Regions from separate parts of the Homo sapiens genome. Here regions 1, 2, 4, 5 and 6 are each linked to region 3. The links are contacts of gene promoters, found by promoter capture Hi-C in blood cells and fetal thymus (Javierre and others, 2016). All regions are on one chromosome and are shown on one strand. Each heading gives the region's core, a stretch centred on a gene start or on the middle of the fragment in contact. The rest is flanking DNA. Distances are from core to core; before and after follow the strand shown. Region 1 overlaps LOC105370777 (a long non-coding RNA gene). Region 2 overlaps LOC105370777 (a long non-coding RNA gene). Region 3 holds the start of THBS1 (thrombospondin 1). Region 4 overlaps LOC105370777 (a long non-coding RNA gene). Region 5 overlaps LOC105370777 (a long non-coding RNA gene). Region 6 overlaps LOC105370777 (a long non-coding RNA gene).

Region 1 (2,781 bases), core at 78-2,577, 340 kb after region 3:
ATGGTGTCTTATGTCTTCACTATTAGTTTTGCTTCCTCATCATCTCCTTTCAGCAAAACCATCTGAAGGTCCACTATCCATTGACTTCCATGGGGTGACGGTGTTACAAGCTTTTAACTTTCACTGGTCTGAAGAAGGTGGAGTTTTATTTTTTCTCTTGTTTCTATCGATCCCTCCTCCAGCACCCATAGAATTGGCCCCAGTCTAGGTGCCAACATGGCACTTGGTTTGGTTTTCATTGGCCCTCTATTCAGTCCCCACCACCTCACCTCCCTCTCACTCCCTTGGAGAGCATCTCACAGCCTTGGGATCTGACAGTTGGCATGTCGTTAAGGACAACAGCAACAACAAAATGACCTAAACTCTTCTCTGGGGGTCCACACAACATAGGTTGTAGCCTTAGTCTTCTACATTTAAAACAATGTAGTTAGCTCTTGCCTTTAACAAACCTAATTAAAGGTAATGTTTGAATGGGAAAAGCTGAAATTGAGATGTTTTGGCTTTACCAATAGCTAGACAAAGCTTGTGCCAAGGCATTCTAACAGATCTGGTTTTGTTAGGTTGTGGCTCTCATGCTAGATCACGGCAAACCCTTTCCTAAATAAATGGAAATCTAGACTACTGGGCCACACTTCATGTCCTGCTTCTACCCAGTGCAATTTTTAAAGACTGTAATGAATATGTGCACATTTTAAATTTATTTTTATATACATATTTGCCCATTTTGAGTCAGAATGAATTTGGGAAATTTTAATCTCCGAGACTAGGCAATGTTATTCATTTACTTAGGTAAAACAATTATTCAGTTCCTTGGAAAACATAACAGTTGCAATATTATTTTGCTCTAAGTCTGTTACTACAATCTGTATATGGTGAATGTGCTTTACTGAGAAACATTTGGGGAAATTGTGGCACAGGTGATTCTATCTCATCAGAACTCAACATTGTTAGTGGCTTTATCAACCATGAAAAACCGATGACTAATGTAGTAATAGTACATGTGGCTTTTTAAGGAATGTAGATGCATTGAGGAAGTGATTTATTCATGTGTATATTATAAATAAGCAGATAACCACATAAAACCTGTTGTAAAAATGTCAGTAAGGATAAGTACAGGAAAAAAAAACCACCCATATTAGATTCTTTTTTTTTTTTTAAATAAAGGACAAACATAGTCCACTGTGGAAGACTGCAGTTTATCTCACAGTGGCCATCTCATCTAGACATTCTTTGGCCTAGGCATGAATGTGTTAGGCTTTCAGTTCTGTGTTCATGAAGACATTTTTGACCACTCCAATAATATATCTAGAGATGTGTCTCTTTCTCTCACAAGTTTAATGAAAAACAACCTGTGTACTATCTGTGCTTGTTAGAATGGAGTTGTTACTACAACCTTTCCTCCCATGTGAAGGATTACAGGATTATCTATCTTGCTTACTCTTGCTCTGCCTCTTGTATTCCATGTCTAACATTCCTGTTTCAGATCTACCTTCTCATGCTTGGCTTTGCCTTTATTCCCCAGTCACATCTTCTTCAAGTTCAATGGTAGAAAAATAATGGAAGAACCAGTTATTAAGTACATTCCTAGAAGATCTCTGGAAGACCCTACCAAGAGATCTTGGGAATGGAAGGCAGATATATGTACAGGGATTAGGTCTGTGTAGTTTAGTGCAAAAGGCATGGCTCTCTTACAAGCTCAATCACCTTATCTTCTCCAAGACGTTTATTTTTAATCTACTTAATTGAGGGGGATAAGACTTCCTTGGAGGGTGTTTCTGTTAATTAAATAGACTGAAGTATGTACAATTGATTAGCATGGTATACACATATATTAGATGCTCAATAGCTTGTTTCTCATCCCCTGTGGCAAGATCTTTTCATGAGAAAAGAAACTTTATACTGATTGAAAGCTCTAAACTGCTCCCAGAATATCCCAGAACTCTTGATATGACAAGAATGTTCTTTCTATTCAGGAACAGAAAGTTTTGGGCCAAAGGTAGAGGATGTCTATTTAGACATAGCTCAGCAGGTGGAAAAGAGGAGATGATGCTCAGGCATGAGCACCCGCAGGCTGCATTCTTCTCTGTAGCTTCAATCCAAGGAGGCAGAGTTACAGTGAGAGGAAAGCTTCAAGAAAATTTGATGTTTTCTTCTTTATCAAATGTCTCATCTTGCAAGGGTTTCATTTTTCACTGCATATTTCGAAGAGCCTGGGTTTCCTGATGCCATTTGGAGTCTTGGCTTTTAAGACCTTTCTCAGTCTTAATCTCAGAGGAACTTTCTTATCCTGCAATCAAGAAAAATGAAAAGAATTGGAGTCCGTTTTACATTTACGAGGGTGTTGACATTTGACGAGACGAAGAATCCAGATGTCATGGGCCTCAGTGGGGCTGCTTTCTCTGGCTCAGCCTTGGTGGGCAGTATAACCAGGGGATGCAGCTCCGGATCTCTCTGCCCTGTGCATAGGAGAGGGGAGAATGCCATTAAGAAGCAGACTGGAATGACATATTGCTTCTGCTGCTCTACTGACTTTCCCCCCATACCTATTTGGTTAGTTGTTTGCCATAATGACTTGGAAAATGATGCCAGTTTTAAGACAACTTCTTTTCATGGCATAAGAACTTATTAATCAAAAATTTACAAAATACACAATAAAATTAGTATTTCTAATTTTATTTTATTAGTATAACTATTATTTTTATTTTTAATTTATTAATAAAAATAATTATTTTATTAGTATAACTAATAAAATAAAATTAGTTAAGAAAGACACACTCAACA
Region 2 (2,824 bases), core at 159-2,658, 500 kb after region 3:
TTCAGTTGACTTGAGATGAGGGATAACCCCTTTCTTCATCCTCCAGGAGAGACTTGACATCATAGAAGCTGTCCATGACATTCTTCTCCACTGATCTCTTCAACCTCTCTCATGTAGTTAAGAGGTGGGTGAGGGGCTAATGTTGACAGAACTGATATTAGAATCTTTCAGCTTGCTCTGCATAGGTATCCTAGCACCACACTCTAAGACCAGGGAGGTGGAGGGTGGTACCTGGCACTTTTTTTTTTTTTTTGTCATTATTGGCCTTCGTATCATCCAAAAAGCTCTGAAACCAAGAATTCTATTTTAACATCCTATTACCAGAATATAGGTAAAAATGACAACTCCGATAAAGTCTTATTACAAAGTTAGACTAATCCTAATTAATAAGGGATTATCAAATAACTTATTTGATAAATTCTAAACTGTTCTCTATTCCAAACCCCAACCCTAGGAGTGGCCATGATTTAAGAGGGTGGAAATCTAAGGTATAGAATTAGGATTTCTTTGCAAGTGAAATTCATAAAAGTCAATCAAATTTAAAGGATGAGATTTGCTCTCCTGTTTTGTAAATCATGAATGATGGAGATCTGAAAACTCAAATTGAAATGGTATGAATAAAGGCTGCTATAACTTATTGATGGTGGCCATTTGGATTATGTCATTCTTCACTTGGGCCACTCACCAATAATTACTCTAAAAGTTTGACTACCTAAGTACCTTTTTCTATTGAAAGAGAGGGAGAGAGGGAAAGAGAAAGAGAAGATAGTAAAAAAAGAGAGAAAGAGAGAGATAATGCTAACTTGGTAGTACTTTCTCCTTATAAATTAATAAATTGAAAATGTGGCTTTTAATACTCATGTGTCTCCCTAGGTTTAACAACACGAATTAAACTTGAGTATAAGATGGATTAACCCTGGCTTAGCCTAAAGAATATCAGCCAGGTGTGGTGGCTCATGCCTGTAATCCTAGCACTTTGGGAGGCCGAGGCAGGTGGATCACCTGAGGTCAGAAGTTCGAGACCAGCCTGACTAGCATGGTGAAACCCCGTCTCTACTAAAAATACAAAATTAGCCGGGTGTGGTGGCACATGCCTGTAATCCCAGCTACTTGGGAGACTGAGGCAGGAGAATCGCTTGAATCCGGGACACAGAGGTTGCAGTGAGCCAAGATTGTGCCATTGCGCTCCAGCCTGGGTGACAAGAGCAAAACTGTGAAACACACACATACACACCATATATATATATATATATATATATATATATATATATATATATATATATATATATATATGAGTTTTGTGGTATGTCTGATTAGGATGTGGGGTTGTTGGCTCTGAATTGGGTTTTGATTTATTTCGGCTAAAGTATCTACAAGAAATTCTGTGCACAGACATGGGAGGCAAGGGAGAGCTCTAAAATGGGTTTGGACTTATTTTGGCTAAAGTATCCACAAGAAATTCTGTGCACAGACATGGGAGGCAAGGGAGAGAAAACAGGGGGAAAGGGCTATTCTGGTACCACATAGTGCCCTGTGACCAGTTTTTGGGCACCCATCGAGAGCAATGGCCGAATGGAATACAGGCCTCTGCTATTGCTTTGAGCAGTGGGAAAAGCTCCCAAGGAGTGGCAGCATTCTTTGGAGGGTGTGGAGATGGTGGGGTCCGGAGGGCTCACTGGATGCACCCATTGCTCAGGTGAGTTGGGACAGCATGAGCCAAGGCCCTGTGGGAGTAGCATGGGCAGGGCCTGCTTGAACACACCTGAGACATGTGTGGGGAGCTCTGAAGTACCTGGAGGAGACTCCTCAAGTGGCCAAGGTCCTCCTGTTATACGTGGTCCTCCTGATATACATGGTCTTCCTGATATAAGTGAAGGCAGCAAGCCTACAGTCTTTGAGTAATAACACCAATGTAAATGTGTTTGTGCTCACAGGCTGGGGGCATTCAGGTTGTGTGAAACTCTGGACCCGCAATATAGAGGACCAGACCCTAACGTGGTGTCTATCTACTACTTGGCGAGCCCTTGCTTAAAAAATGTGTTGCCAGCTGGGCGCAGTGGCTCATGCCTGTAATCCCAGCACTTTGGGAGGCCGAGGCAGGCAGATCACGAGGTCAGGAGTTCGAGACCAGCCTGGCCTACATGGTGAAACTGCGTCTCTACTAAAAATATAAAAATTAGCCAGATGTGGTGGCGGATGCCTGTAATCCCAGCTACTCAGGAGGCTGAGGCAGGAGAACTGCTTGAACCCAGGAGGCGGAGGTTACAGTGAGCCCAGATCACACCACTGCACTCCAGCCTGGGTGACAGAGCAAGACTCCATCTTGGGGGAAAAAAAAAAATCTATTGCCCTCACTCTGATCTCAGCAAGGTCAAATTTGAAGAAAAATCAATTATCTGTTTTTTTTTTTAAAGAAAACCTATTTTGCATTCTTGAAAATCCTAGCTAAGGTCTCAATTGATCATTAATATTTGTTCTTGAATAGAAGTTTCAAAAGACAGAAGAGTCCTCAGATCACTAAAGCTATAAATGGCAGTGAAAGGGCAGCATCTCCACACTTTCCCTCAGAGGCTAACATATAAGAAATTCCCATATATGGGAGCCAGGAAGAAGGAGGAAGTTTGGGCAAACATCCAGGGCTGTCTGTGGAATAAGTAAGATGGGCTTTAGTAAATTCCCAGCACAGAGGTGCTGACGGCCACCTGACTGAGTCATGCACTGGTGCATCATCGAAGATAAACTGTTACAAAATGAATCAAAATTCTTAAGCCACTGAGGTAAAAGAGCAGTTTCTGAGCTAATACTCTGTCTAGGCAAGCTTTTA
Region 3 (2,908 bases), core at 87-2,586:
TCTGCCTCAGGGATGCCAGAAGGAGGAAACCCTTTTCTGCCCGCACAGCATCCACCAGGTCTTGGAACTTGTCATCAGGCACAGGGGGGATCAGGTTGGCATCCTCGATGCGGAAAGCTGGGCTGGAAGGGTCGGGGCCCTTCACCAGTCGGCGCCCAGACCCCTTGCGGGCGGCCCCGGTGAGTTCAAAGATGTCAAACACGCTGTTGTCTCCGCCAGACTCTGTTAGACAGGAGAGAACACAAAGTGAGCTTTCTAGGCTGGGACCAGCAGTAGGGGGCTGAGTCCTTAGGGGTGGAGACAAAGGGTTGGGGTGAAAACTCCTGGCAACCACTGAAAGAGGTGAATAAATACCAGGATCAGAGTGAAGCTGCGTCCTGATGTCCAGTCAGGCTCAAGAGGGAGAGGACAGCACGTGAGGGGGCACACCTGGGATAGCCAGCACCTCTTCCTTGTCCCTCCTTCCCCTAAAGGTGCCACACAAACTCACCTGGAATGCGGTTGGTGCCACACACATGCATCAGGAACAGGACGCCTAGTCCCCAGGCCAGCCCCATGGTGGAGCTGTTGGTGCCCAGCAGGGATCCTGTAGCAGGAAGCACAAGAGCCGAGGGTCAGAGATCAGCTAGGCAGGGAGGGACGGTGCGCAGAAACGGGGCTGGGCATGGGGACAGGGCCGGGACCATCCCTCTTTGACCCCGCGTTTGCTGAAATGAAGGACAACAGGATTACTTTCCAGAGAGCATGAGAGAGAGAGAGAGAGAGAGAGAGAGAGGTGGAGGAAAGAGATGCTGGTTTTAAAGTGTGGGGGGCGCAAGACCAACAATTTGGGGGCTTTTGGGAAGTCGAAGGTGAGCAAGATCAGGAACTGTAGTTTGGGGTTGCAGGGAGGGCAGGGGAAGTACAGACTCTTCCCTGGAGTGCTGATACAAAGGCTTAAGGAGGACTTCAGAGAGTAAGGAAATCTTGGGGTGTCCTGATGAGTTGGTTTGTGAACCTCAAGGCTGGAGAGGATGGCTCTGGAGCCTTGCCCTGAAGAGTCCTCCAGCGGCTGAGAGGAGCGGGCTGGGGTAGGCGAGCGGGGAGAGTGTAGGTTCCGGGGTCCACCAGAGGGACTGAAGCCTCAGCGCTCCAGGTGGATGTCCCGGGCAGCTTTGGTCCTCGGCGGCCGCCGGGGGCGACTTACCTGTGTGTACCGGAGCGCGGCGGCCGGGAGCGGTGGCGAGGGCGGCGAGGGCTGGAGGGGCGCGGGGAATGCCTGTGCGTCCGGAGTAGAGGTTGCTCCTGGAGAGCGACAGGAGCCCTGAACTCGCAGGCCAGCTCGGGCGCAGCGGCTGGCAAGGCGGAGGAGCCGCGCGCTTTTAAAGGGGCGCTCGCATTCCTGGGGATTCCTCCGGCCAATGGGCGGCGGCCGGGCAGGAAGCGGGAGGTGGGGGCCAGTCTGGGCTCCTCTCTCCGCCCCCCGCTGCCTGGCGCGCAACTTTCCAGCTAGAAAGTGAAGGGGGCGGGGGTCGGGGCTTGGGAGCACTAGAACTTCTCAGAAAAGTCGGTGCCCGCCCACGCAGCCTTGGCGCGCACGGGCTCGGCGCTCGTACTCTTGCGCCACGCGGGCTCGGGGTGATCAGCAAGCATCCCGAAAAGGGACGGGGCTGGGGAGACCACCTAGGAGGGCCCGCGGGGTGGCGCAGGGGCTTTCGGGCGAGCTGATCTCCCGGAATGCCTGGTTGATGGCGAGAGGTGGATACTAGAGACTGGGCCCGTTTTGTAAAAAGAAAAATGGGCCGACGGGGCGCAGGGGACACCAAGAGAGCCATTCGTTAAAGTACCTGCCCCTCGGGCCCTCGCTGACTCTCCTCCACCGTCCCCGTGGGGTGAGGACACGCGTCCCCCGAGCGCCTGTCCTGAGCTGGCCCCACGCCCGCCCCGGAGGGAGGTGAGCGCGGCGTCGGCGGGGCCGGCAGGTTGGTGCGCCGCGTTCGCCTTCGCTGCCTTCGGGCCCTTTCCTGCCGCGGCTGCCAGGGGGCCCACAGAGACGCCTCTCCCGCTGCCGCGGCGCTCCCTCGGCCGGCCGCTTGGGGGCGGTGTGCGTATTCTCATCAAGGGGCCCGGGGAGGACAGCTGCTTTCTACTCGAATTTTAAGGAAACTTACTCGTATCCAGTTTCCACAAGCCAAATTGAAATTGTGTCTTGAAAAACAGTTTTTGTGCCCACTCGTGCTTCTTAACGTGACTCCTGTTTGGAGAATTTGCAGAACCATCTGGCTCCAGAGTCTTCAGCTATTTACAGAGCAGACCCATAGAGTAATAAATTACTCTCTGCCTATTATTGTATTTCCCTTTTTCCTCCCTAAACGTTCTTTTCATTTTTCGGCTCCTGAACCCGAGGTGTGGGTTACATTTCTGTGGGTGCACACATTGCCATGAGTGCCGCTGCCTAGTGCTTCTGTCATTGAAGTCTGGTCTCCAAGCCACTGTCCCAAGCCAGCATGACTCTAGCTTCCTGGAATTCCATTCATCTCTTCGGGATGGGACGTCAGCCGCCTCGCTCCCTCTGCTGTGATCCAGCGCTATCGGGCTCGCTCCGAGGCCAGGGCATAGGTAGAAGCTTGACCAAATAAGGATCTCAGCACGGGCAGGGGGAAACCCCTGGGGTTCACCTCCCATCTTAGCACTTAAACCTGGCAGGACTCCCGACTGCTGCAAACAGCCAAGTGTTTACATTCATCAAACAGCAGTTTCGCTTTTCTTGCGTGGGAGTGTTGTATGACAAGATGGTGTGTGTGTGTGTGTGTGTGTGTGTGTATTACGGAAAGAGTGTTTTCTAGTTACTCAATATGTATATAAAATGCCTCTAAAAGATGACCGGTATGTTCCTAAGGCACATGTTTGTTGGATTTCAGATGTTGGG
Region 4 (2,703 bases), core at 80-2,579, 280 kb after region 3:
TTGAAAAAGTATGTCAAATTGCTTAGTGTTTTGAATGTTTTAAATGTTGGAGGCAGCTTTGCTTGGTTCTGATGGTACATTCAGCATTTAATTGGAAACCAATTTCCCTCCTTATTTTCTTGAAGGAGATTTGGTCCTAGACAACTGTACTGCAGAACTGGGGGGACTTCCAAAAAGGAAACATACTCCCAAGATTTTGTTTCTACTCAAATACCAGAGCAAAGCTCTGACCTCATACAAATCAGTTGAGAGAAGCCCATTTCTGGCTGTGTATTTGGATCCCAGAATATTATTTCCCCTTGCATTTCATGATTCCACCCCTCCAGATTTGGAGTCATTCACTGTATGATATTTGTGGTGACATCTTAGACTTCAGTTTCCGTAATGAATGCACCTGAGTTCCAGCACTAATTTTCTCTTCCCTGGGAAAAACAAAAAAACACAAAACCATTTGTATGGCCCCCTGAGTTGTCACTTCATCAATAAGTGAGGCTCTGTGCTTTGGGATAGTTCAACAAATAGTTTTGCCACTGACCACAGATTTGGATGAAATGATCCTTTACTGCAGACAGCACAGGAGTGATCCAAATCAGGACATATGGGGAATGGTTTCTCTTGCCATGTGGCTTTTGCATAGGATCATATAACCACCAGGCCAACAGACCCACTCATTAACCCCATCAACTGCAAATAGAGTAAGTCTCAGGAAAAAATAGCTAAATTCAAACTACACAAATGGCTTCTGTTTTCTCTTGTCATTACATCCTTGGATCTTAGGCATTACATTAAAATTGATTGGGTTTGTTTTTTTTGGTCAAAAACCTCCTCAGATCTTTTCGCTTTAAAATTTTCCAAAGCCTCCTTACATGTCTATGGTTTTTGTTTAAGAATTTAGAAAACAATGAACAAAAACCTTTCTCCCCACCCAGTTCAAACTTTTCATTTTGTTAAGCTTGTAAGTGTTATTACCTTTTTCATAAGGGTTCATTTAAATTAAGCCTCAATGATTTGGAGTGAAATTAATTAATAACTAATATAAATGTATTAAAGATCATGTCTATATATAAATCTATTTGACTGTTTTGACTACATGAAACCTACTTAGTAAATTGGAACTCACTGAATAACCAGTTATTTGGGTATGTATATCTTGTTGAGTGTTTGGGTGATATCTCTCCTTTTCTGTTGGGTGAAACCTCTACTTTTCTTTTAGGTTCCACAAATAAATGAACATAGGACTGAGAGGGAAATGCAACTGAGAATAGTTACATATTTTGTTCAATTACTAAGAAACATGTCATTGTGAGACTAGTGCTGTACTCAGGTGTCATTTGCATTTTCTTTTCTTCAGAAGGCCTAACACATTACTCTGGTGGATCTTCTACTCATTAATACTCCATTCCACTTGGTGTTTGAGTCCTTTGAGATTCAATTTCATTTTGTGACAATGCTGACTTACTGGGGCAGCCGACAGTATGAGAAGAATGAATTGTGTACATAATGTTTGATTTGTACCTTCATGTATTATAATATGTCAATGTATTGACAAGTGGTAAGAAACTAGAGCCAGTGGGGAAGATTAGTGGGAAGATGTTGCCTGCTGCTGCCTGTGTAAATTCTCACACAAGTGGCCCTTGTACCTAGCAATTTTAAGTGATGTTTCATTTGTGATTGTGGAAAACTAGAAGGAGCATAGCAAAAGCTTCTTTTTCACTTGCTCTTTCCTTGGGAAGTTCTAGAAGAAAGGGACAGGAGAGCATGCTGATTTTAAAGAGGGAAAGTTTTTAGTCTTTCAGCACCTCAAGAATCAACCTGTAGTCTGTCTTCTGTACCCTAAAATGTCTTAGCACCCATGTGCTTAATGATACTGAGTTACAAAGTTAAAGTCAGGCCTGGCGTAAATGTACATTCATCCTTTCTTGGATTGTAAGACTTTTGGGGACAGGATTTGTGTTTTATTTTTTCTGAATCCTGCAGAGTGTTTAATAGTAAAATAATGAAAATAATAGTAATACTGGCAGCTAACAATTGTTGAGTATTCACTATAAACCAAGCAATATATTAGGCACTTTATATACGTTATCTTGTTTAATCTTGATTATAATTCTAGTGTTGTTATTATTAATACCTTATAGATAAAGGAATTGAGGCTTAACGTTTGCATAACCTGCCCAAGGTCATGCAGCTGGTGTAGTGGGTTGAATAGATTCCCGTAAGATATGTGCAAGTCCTAATCCTTGGTACCCGTGAATGTGACCTCATTTGGAAATAGGGTCGTTGTTGATATAATTAAGAATCTTGAGATGAGATTATCTTGGATTTAGGGTGGGCCCTAAATCCGATGATTGGTCTCCTTTTGAAAGAAAAGAAGGGAGATTTGAGACACATGCAGAGAAGAACACCATGTGAAGATGAAGACAGATTAGAACGATGCATCTACCAGAGAAGGAATGCCAAAAATTGCTGACTACCACCCCAAACTGGGAGACAGGCATTGAACAAATTATCCCTCAGAGGCTTCAGAAGCAACCAGCCCTTCTAACACCTTGATTTCAGACTTCTGGCCTCCAAAACTGTGAGAAAGTTAACTTATTGTTTTTAAGCCACTTAGTTTGTAATAATTTGGTCCAATAGCTGTAGAAAACCAGTATAGCTAGGAAGTGATGGAATGTACACTCCATTATTGGAAACATGGCCCCACTG
Region 5 (2,838 bases), core at 160-2,659, 380 kb after region 3:
GAATAGCGGGTATTCCTATGGCAGATAAACAATAGACAGCCACTCTAAGAATGGGGCTTAAAACTTGGGTTTCCATGGAGGGAGTTCATGAGTTTGGAAAGAAACATATATTTCACTAACCTCTAACTGAAATTTGCCGTTTTCTTCATTTATGAATGTCGGCAACACATCGCATCTGAATTATTTCCTATGACTTTGTTACAAATACAGATCATAGATCTTTCCATATTCTGTTATGGTGGCTAGAGATATCTTGAAATATCATTTGTGCTATCAGCATATTTAAATTATGGTGCTTATAGGTTAAGTACTAAATCATGTTAATGTAATAATAGGGATTCATATAAATTATATGAATTGTATATTTGCACGCCCCCACGAAAAAAGCTCTATATTTCTATATTGATTTCCCTGCAGATTTTTTTAAATTATAGCGTTCACAACTACAGAACTAATTATGTTTTATATCCTCTTTGAAGCTACACTAATTCCTACCTTAATTATCATCACCTGCTGAGGGTAAATTTTGTTTTAAAACATTTTTGAGAACTGTATTTCAGTGTGATTATTTTACTTGTAATCTTGTGTATTTTATGTTACATATTTAAAGATATTATTTCTGAAAGGGGTCCTCAGGATCTGCCAGACTTTCACAGGGGTTCCTGTCTCAAAAAGGGTTAAGCTCTTCTGCTGTAAGCAAAAGATGACAAACTCAAATGCCTACAGCACAGGCCTCAAGAACTGACTGAAGAAAGAGACCCACTAGAAGGCCAGTATAACAATCTAGAGAAAAAAAATTAGGGGGAATTTCGTGGGGTCCCAATAAATAACAGCCCCATTTTTCACTTAAATTTGGATCCAACTGAAAAAAGAAAAGACAAATAATAAGTCAGCTAGAGTTCAAAGTATCACCATTTCAATGAACACACCTGATATTAGAGAATGTGGCTTATTTCTTGGCTGTCACAACTCTAGGGGCCCTAGGTGAGAGAGGTAAGAGGACTGTAAAGTAAAGATGCCTCCTGGAGTCCTGGAGCTTTAACCCATTCAGCAATAGCATGCTGCAGCCTGCTTCATCTCCACCACTACAGACACTGATTCCTGCTGGACTTAAAGCAACTTACCCAGCAGGGCTGGTTTGGGCAGGCTTCCTCCTGCTGAGATGAGATTTTTCTGCAGGAGGCTTTGAAATGGGTCAGAACAATGCAGTAATTAAATGGACTCCAAGGCCAAAAATATTCTTTCTATTCTGTTTCCCTTGCTCAGTGCTGTCCTGCTACAACTGTTCAATATAATCTATTGGAAGTAACTGTCCAATATAACCTACTGGAAGTTATGAAATAAAATTAAGTGAAAATGCAGAGAGAAACTCCACGAATAAAATGCCAAGAAAGCGAGGATGCCCCAAATTTGAATATAGTTCCTCCCTCTGTGAAATTCTCTCAGAAGAATTAAAATCGATACATTAGTCCCTTCGCAAGTTTAAGTCTAATGTTAACAAAACCCAAGTGAATTAAAGTCTGAATCAAACTCTACTGCTTTGGTGAATTAAAAGCCCAACCCAACGTGACTAATTATATACTGACTTCCCATTAAGGGTTGGGGTGAGGGGTCTCCACAGTGTTAGCAGAGTGAGGGGTCCTGCCAGGGCTTGCAGCTGGGGCTCGCTCTTCTTGAGGCTGGTGTGGTTCCTGCAGGACTGCAGAAAATATATGCTGGGTTTCTGATGACTTTACTGATGAAAAGTTTCAAGCAGTTATTATTTTCACTGGTGGGCCACACCTACCATATTGAGAAAAGAAGCCAAACCTCATCCTCTAAAGCAATTATCCCAGAAAAAATTACATTCTCAGAATGTGGGGCTTAGTATATTGTCAAAAACTATGGCCCCAGATGCAATGTCAACATGAAGGGGAGGCTGAATGAGTCCTGGAATGGTAGATGGAAGAACCTCCTCCCAAACATATCCACATCCTAATCCCATGGACCCTGTCATACGTTACTTTGACTTTTCAGACATCATTAAGGATTTGAGATGGGCAGATTATCCTGGATTATCTAGAAAGGCTCCATATAATCACAAGGGTCCTTATAAGAGGAAGACAAGAGGGTCAGAGTTAGAGAGATTTACAGCTGCTACGCTACTTCCTTAAGGATGAATCAAGGAATACAGGTGGCCTCTAGAAGCTGGAAAAATCAAGGAGATGGATTTTCTCCTAGATGCTTCAGAAGGCCTGCAGCCCTGTCAACATCTTGATTTTAGCCTAGTAGATCCCACTTGGGACTTCTGACCTCCAGAAGTGTAAGATAATAAATTTGTGCTGTTTTAGGTCACTAAGTTCCTGGCAATTTGATACAGCAGCAAAAGAAAACTAATAATACAGTTGATTGAGAGCTTGTATTCTGGGGCAAATCCAGCCTGTATTCAGATCCCTGCTCAGCCACTAACTAAATATGTGGCCTTGCTGCCTACTAGCATAGGCTGAGGTCCCTGAATCACTAGCATGTGTGTGATAAGACAAGTGGCTTGTACTGTTTAGGGGAAAGACTTCACCATGAGATTCCCTGCATCCACTTAAGGCAGGCCTTTTCTAAGTCTCGTGCAATTGGTGTCTGCTGATGACATTCCTGCACATGTGACTTGGCTGAGCCCCAGGCTTTCTGAGTCCCCCAGCCACTACTTTGTCAAAGCTGAATTGTCCTGGTATTTTCCCTGAGTGTTACGTCTTTGTTGAGGGCAATGGAATCTTGCTTTAGGCTGTCACAATCTATAAAACAAACAACTACATATAAAAAACAGTCCATATAAAGCTACCACTGGACAAGCTGTAATTATCT
Region 6 (2,700 bases), core at 155-2,654, 300 kb after region 3:
ACTGCATGTTCTCACGCATAGGTGGGAATTGAACAATGAGAACACTTGGACGCAGGAAGTGGAACATCACATACCGGGGCCTGTTGTGGGGTGAGGGGGGCTGGGAGGGATAGCATTAGGAAATATACCTAATGTAAATGACGAGTTAATGGGTGCAGCACACCAACATGGCACATGTATACATATGTAACAAACCTGCACGTTGTGCACATGTACCCTAGAACTTAAAGTATAATTAAAAAAAAAAAAGTTAAAGTATGTTAGAACATGCTGGAGAAAACAACCCCTGGATATCTGCCACAGCTATTCTCCATATTCCAGGGAATAAAACAAAACCACCTCACCAAGAATCCTTAGAATGCTCCTTGCTATGAAAGAAACGAATTTTATCTCTAAACAACCCACAGAGGTGAGATGTCAATGGCTCCACCAGCTACACCAGTAGTATGTGTCATTTCCCACTTATCATTACCAGTTCCTTTAAATGAAGAACATTTTGAGCAACAGGTTTTTTAAAGGAGTTGGAGAGTATTCTCACATTAATATCTATAGAATGATAATTAGAAAAGATAAAAGGATACTTTTATCATATGGATTAAGAATGATTTTCTTATCTAAATATGACTACAAATGTGTTCACATTTTTGTTCCATCTGTCCTGATCCCTGAGTCCTTAGCACATTGGCAACAATGATTGGCTCAATTCTTTCACAAAGTTTATTTTGACTAATTGGTTAAATTTTTAATAATTCGGATATAGTTTTTTTTTTTTTTTTTTTTTTTTTTTAAACAGAGTCTCGTTCTGTCACCCGGGCTGCAGTTGCGATGGCACGATCTCAGCTCACTGCAACCTCTGCCTCCTGGGTTCAAGTGACTCTTGTGCCTCAACCTTCCAAGTAGCTGAGATTACAGGCACACGCCACCACACCTGGCTAATTTTTGTATCTTTAGTAGAGACGGGTTTTACCATGTTGGTGAGGCTGGTCTCGAACTCCTGACCTCAGGTGATCCACCCGCCTCACCCTCCCAAAGTGTTGGGATTACAGGCGTGAGCCACTGTGCCTGGGCATATTTACAGTTTTAAAATCCCTTTTAGTCACTGTGCAGCCCCCATGATCCCATGTTCTATAGCTGACTAGAGGTTTATGAACTTTTTTAAACGTAAGTTAGGATGGCTATTAGTGGGTAAACCTTCTCTTCCAAACTCTGTGGGTGCTGCTCATAAACATGATACTTGTTCCTCAAATAAATGCTCAATTTGTTAATTTGCAATTTGGGATTTTCAAATTTATGGCTTCCAAGTTCTACATCAGATACTAAAATCAGGTTATCAGATAGGCAGGTAGTTTAGCAAAGTACATATGCTTATTTTCTTAGGTTCTAGAAAATCTGGTCTAAATCTAAACCTGGTCATTCTTTTATGCTTGGAAAATCCTCCTACTTCAGGAGTTGGGGGATGACCATAGTCAAGAACTGAAAAGAATGTTCAGAGTTGGGAGCTGAGCTGAACTTGTGGTAACGAATCTATGCCTCCCTTTCTTCAGTAGCTTTGAAGGGAAGTCACAGTCAATGAAATGAAGAAAAAAAAAGGAAGAATGTGGGGTTTGAGGCGTATTTTTATTGAAGTTTATTAAATTACATTACCTAAATGTAATTATAGTAAAATGCACATTTCTCAAATTTTGATGATCCCAGTTACACAGAACATTTACACAGAACTTTACATCACCCTAGAAAATTCCCTCGCGCTTTTTCCCAGTCAGTTCCCCACTCCCTCCCAAAAAAGTTAATCTCTGTTTCGATATCCTGACAAATTAGCTTTGCCTGTTTGCCTATTCTTTTTATTTACATATTGTTAACTTTTTAATTTCTAAAATTTTTGTGGGTACATAGTATGTATTTATGAGGGGCATGAGATGTTTTGATACAGTCTTTGCCTGTTCTTGAAATTGACATAAATGGACTCTTGTGTCTGGCTTCCCCATTGCACCTCTGCCCTCAACGTATTATCTTTGAGATTCATCCAAGTTATCACATGTATCGGTAGTTAATTCATTTTTTCTGCTTTGGTTGACTCATTTTGCATTGTATAAATATACCACAATTTGTTTATCCATTTTCCTTTTAATGGACATCATGTTGCTTTTAGTTTTTGGCTATTGTGAATAAAGCTGCAAAGAACAATCTTGTACAAGTTACTTGGTGGACATATGTTTTCATTTCTTTTGGGTGAACACCAAGGAGAGGAATTGCAAGATCGTAAGTAACATTTGGCATTTTTAGGCTTTTTAATTTTAACCATTCTAGTGGGTGTATAGTGGTATCTCATTGTAGCTTTAACTTTTATTTTCCTGATTACTCACATGTTGAGCATTCTTATATCTTCTTTTGTGAAATGTCTGTCCAAATCTTTTGCCCATTTTTATTGGGTTATTTGTTTTGTTTAAAAACTACTTAATTGCAAGAATTCTTTATATTGCCCAAATACATATCGTTTGTGAAACATATGTATTTTTAGTGTTCTATTTTTTTTTTTTGAGACGGAGTCTTGCTCTGTTGCCCAGGCTGGAGTGCAGTGGTGCGATCTTGGCTCACTGCAAGCTCCGCCTCCCGGGTTCATGCCATTCTCCTGCCTCAGCCTCCTGAGTAGCTGGGACTATAGGCGCCTGCCATCACGCCCGGCTACTTTTTTTTTTTTTG

Evidence for each region. The method cuts DNA at HindIII sites, captures the fragments that hold promoters and counts their contacts. A CHiCAGO score of 5 or more calls a contact.
Region 1: a fragment that was not itself captured here is called in contact with the fragment with the promoter of THBS1 in region 3 in 2 of 17 cell types (monocytes and endothelial precursors); the score reaches 12.5 in monocytes.
Region 2: a fragment that was not itself captured here is called in contact with the fragment with the promoter of THBS1 in region 3 in 1 of 17 cell types (M2 macrophages); the score reaches 6.1 in M2 macrophages.
Region 4: a contact is called between a fragment that was not itself captured here and the fragment with the promoter of THBS1 in region 3, in 4 of 17 cell types (monocytes, M2 macrophages, endothelial precursors and 1 more). The highest score is 14.3, in monocytes.
Region 5: a fragment that was not itself captured here is called in contact with the fragment with the promoter of THBS1 in region 3 in 6 of 17 cell types (monocytes, endothelial precursors, M1 macrophages and 3 more); the score reaches 13.4 in monocytes.
Region 6: a contact is called between a fragment that was not itself captured here and the fragment with the promoter of THBS1 in region 3, in 1 of 17 cell types (monocytes). The highest score is 9.7, in monocytes.

The regions. Positions count from the first base shown.
Region 1 is chr15:39,238,031-39,240,811 of GRCh38, reverse strand. All of the region lies in intron 1 of LOC105370777 (a long non-coding RNA gene), which reads left to right. Among named protein-coding and RNA genes, the nearest start is that of LINC02915, 11 kb to the left of the region's middle. The HindIII fragment of the contact is 1,605 bases long and covers 525-2,129 here.
Region 2 is chr15:39,079,568-39,082,391 of GRCh38, reverse strand. All of the region lies in intron 1 of LOC105370777 (a long non-coding RNA gene), which reads left to right. Among named protein-coding and RNA genes, the nearest start is that of LINC02915, 170 kb to the left of the region's middle. The HindIII fragment of the contact is 2,824 bases long and covers 1-2,820 here.
Region 3 is chr15:39,579,507-39,582,414 of GRCh38, reverse strand. It overlaps THBS1 (thrombospondin 1), which reads right to left and starts at 1,336. Exons shown (of 22, transcript NM_003246.4): 1 at 1,187-1,336; 2 at 491-586; 3 at 1-222. The coding sequence starts at 557. LOC124903470 reads right to left here and starts at 2,608. Exons shown (of 1, transcript XM_047433405.1): 1 at 1,421-2,608. The coding sequence starts at 2,097. The coding sequence ends at 1,663. RefSeq lists silencers at 1,796-1,845, 1,856-2,085 and an enhancer at 1,508-2,245. The HindIII fragment of the contact is 3,699 bases long and covers 1-2,607 here.
Region 4 is chr15:39,295,760-39,298,462 of GRCh38, reverse strand. All of the region lies in intron 1 of LOC105370777 (a long non-coding RNA gene), which reads left to right. Among named protein-coding and RNA genes, the nearest start is that of LINC02915, 46 kb to the right of the region's middle. The HindIII fragment of the contact is 750 bases long and covers 955-1,704 here.
Region 5 is chr15:39,199,054-39,201,891 of GRCh38, reverse strand. The region is part of intron 1 of LOC105370777 (a long non-coding RNA gene); the gene reads left to right. Among named protein-coding and RNA genes, the nearest start is that of LINC02915, 50 kb to the left of the region's middle. The HindIII fragment of the contact is 3,871 bases long and covers 1-2,838 here.
Region 6 is chr15:39,278,997-39,281,696 of GRCh38, reverse strand. All of the region lies in intron 1 of LOC105370777 (a long non-coding RNA gene), which reads left to right. Among named protein-coding and RNA genes, the nearest start is that of LINC02915, 30 kb to the right of the region's middle. The HindIII fragment of the contact is 5,147 bases long and covers 1-2,700 here.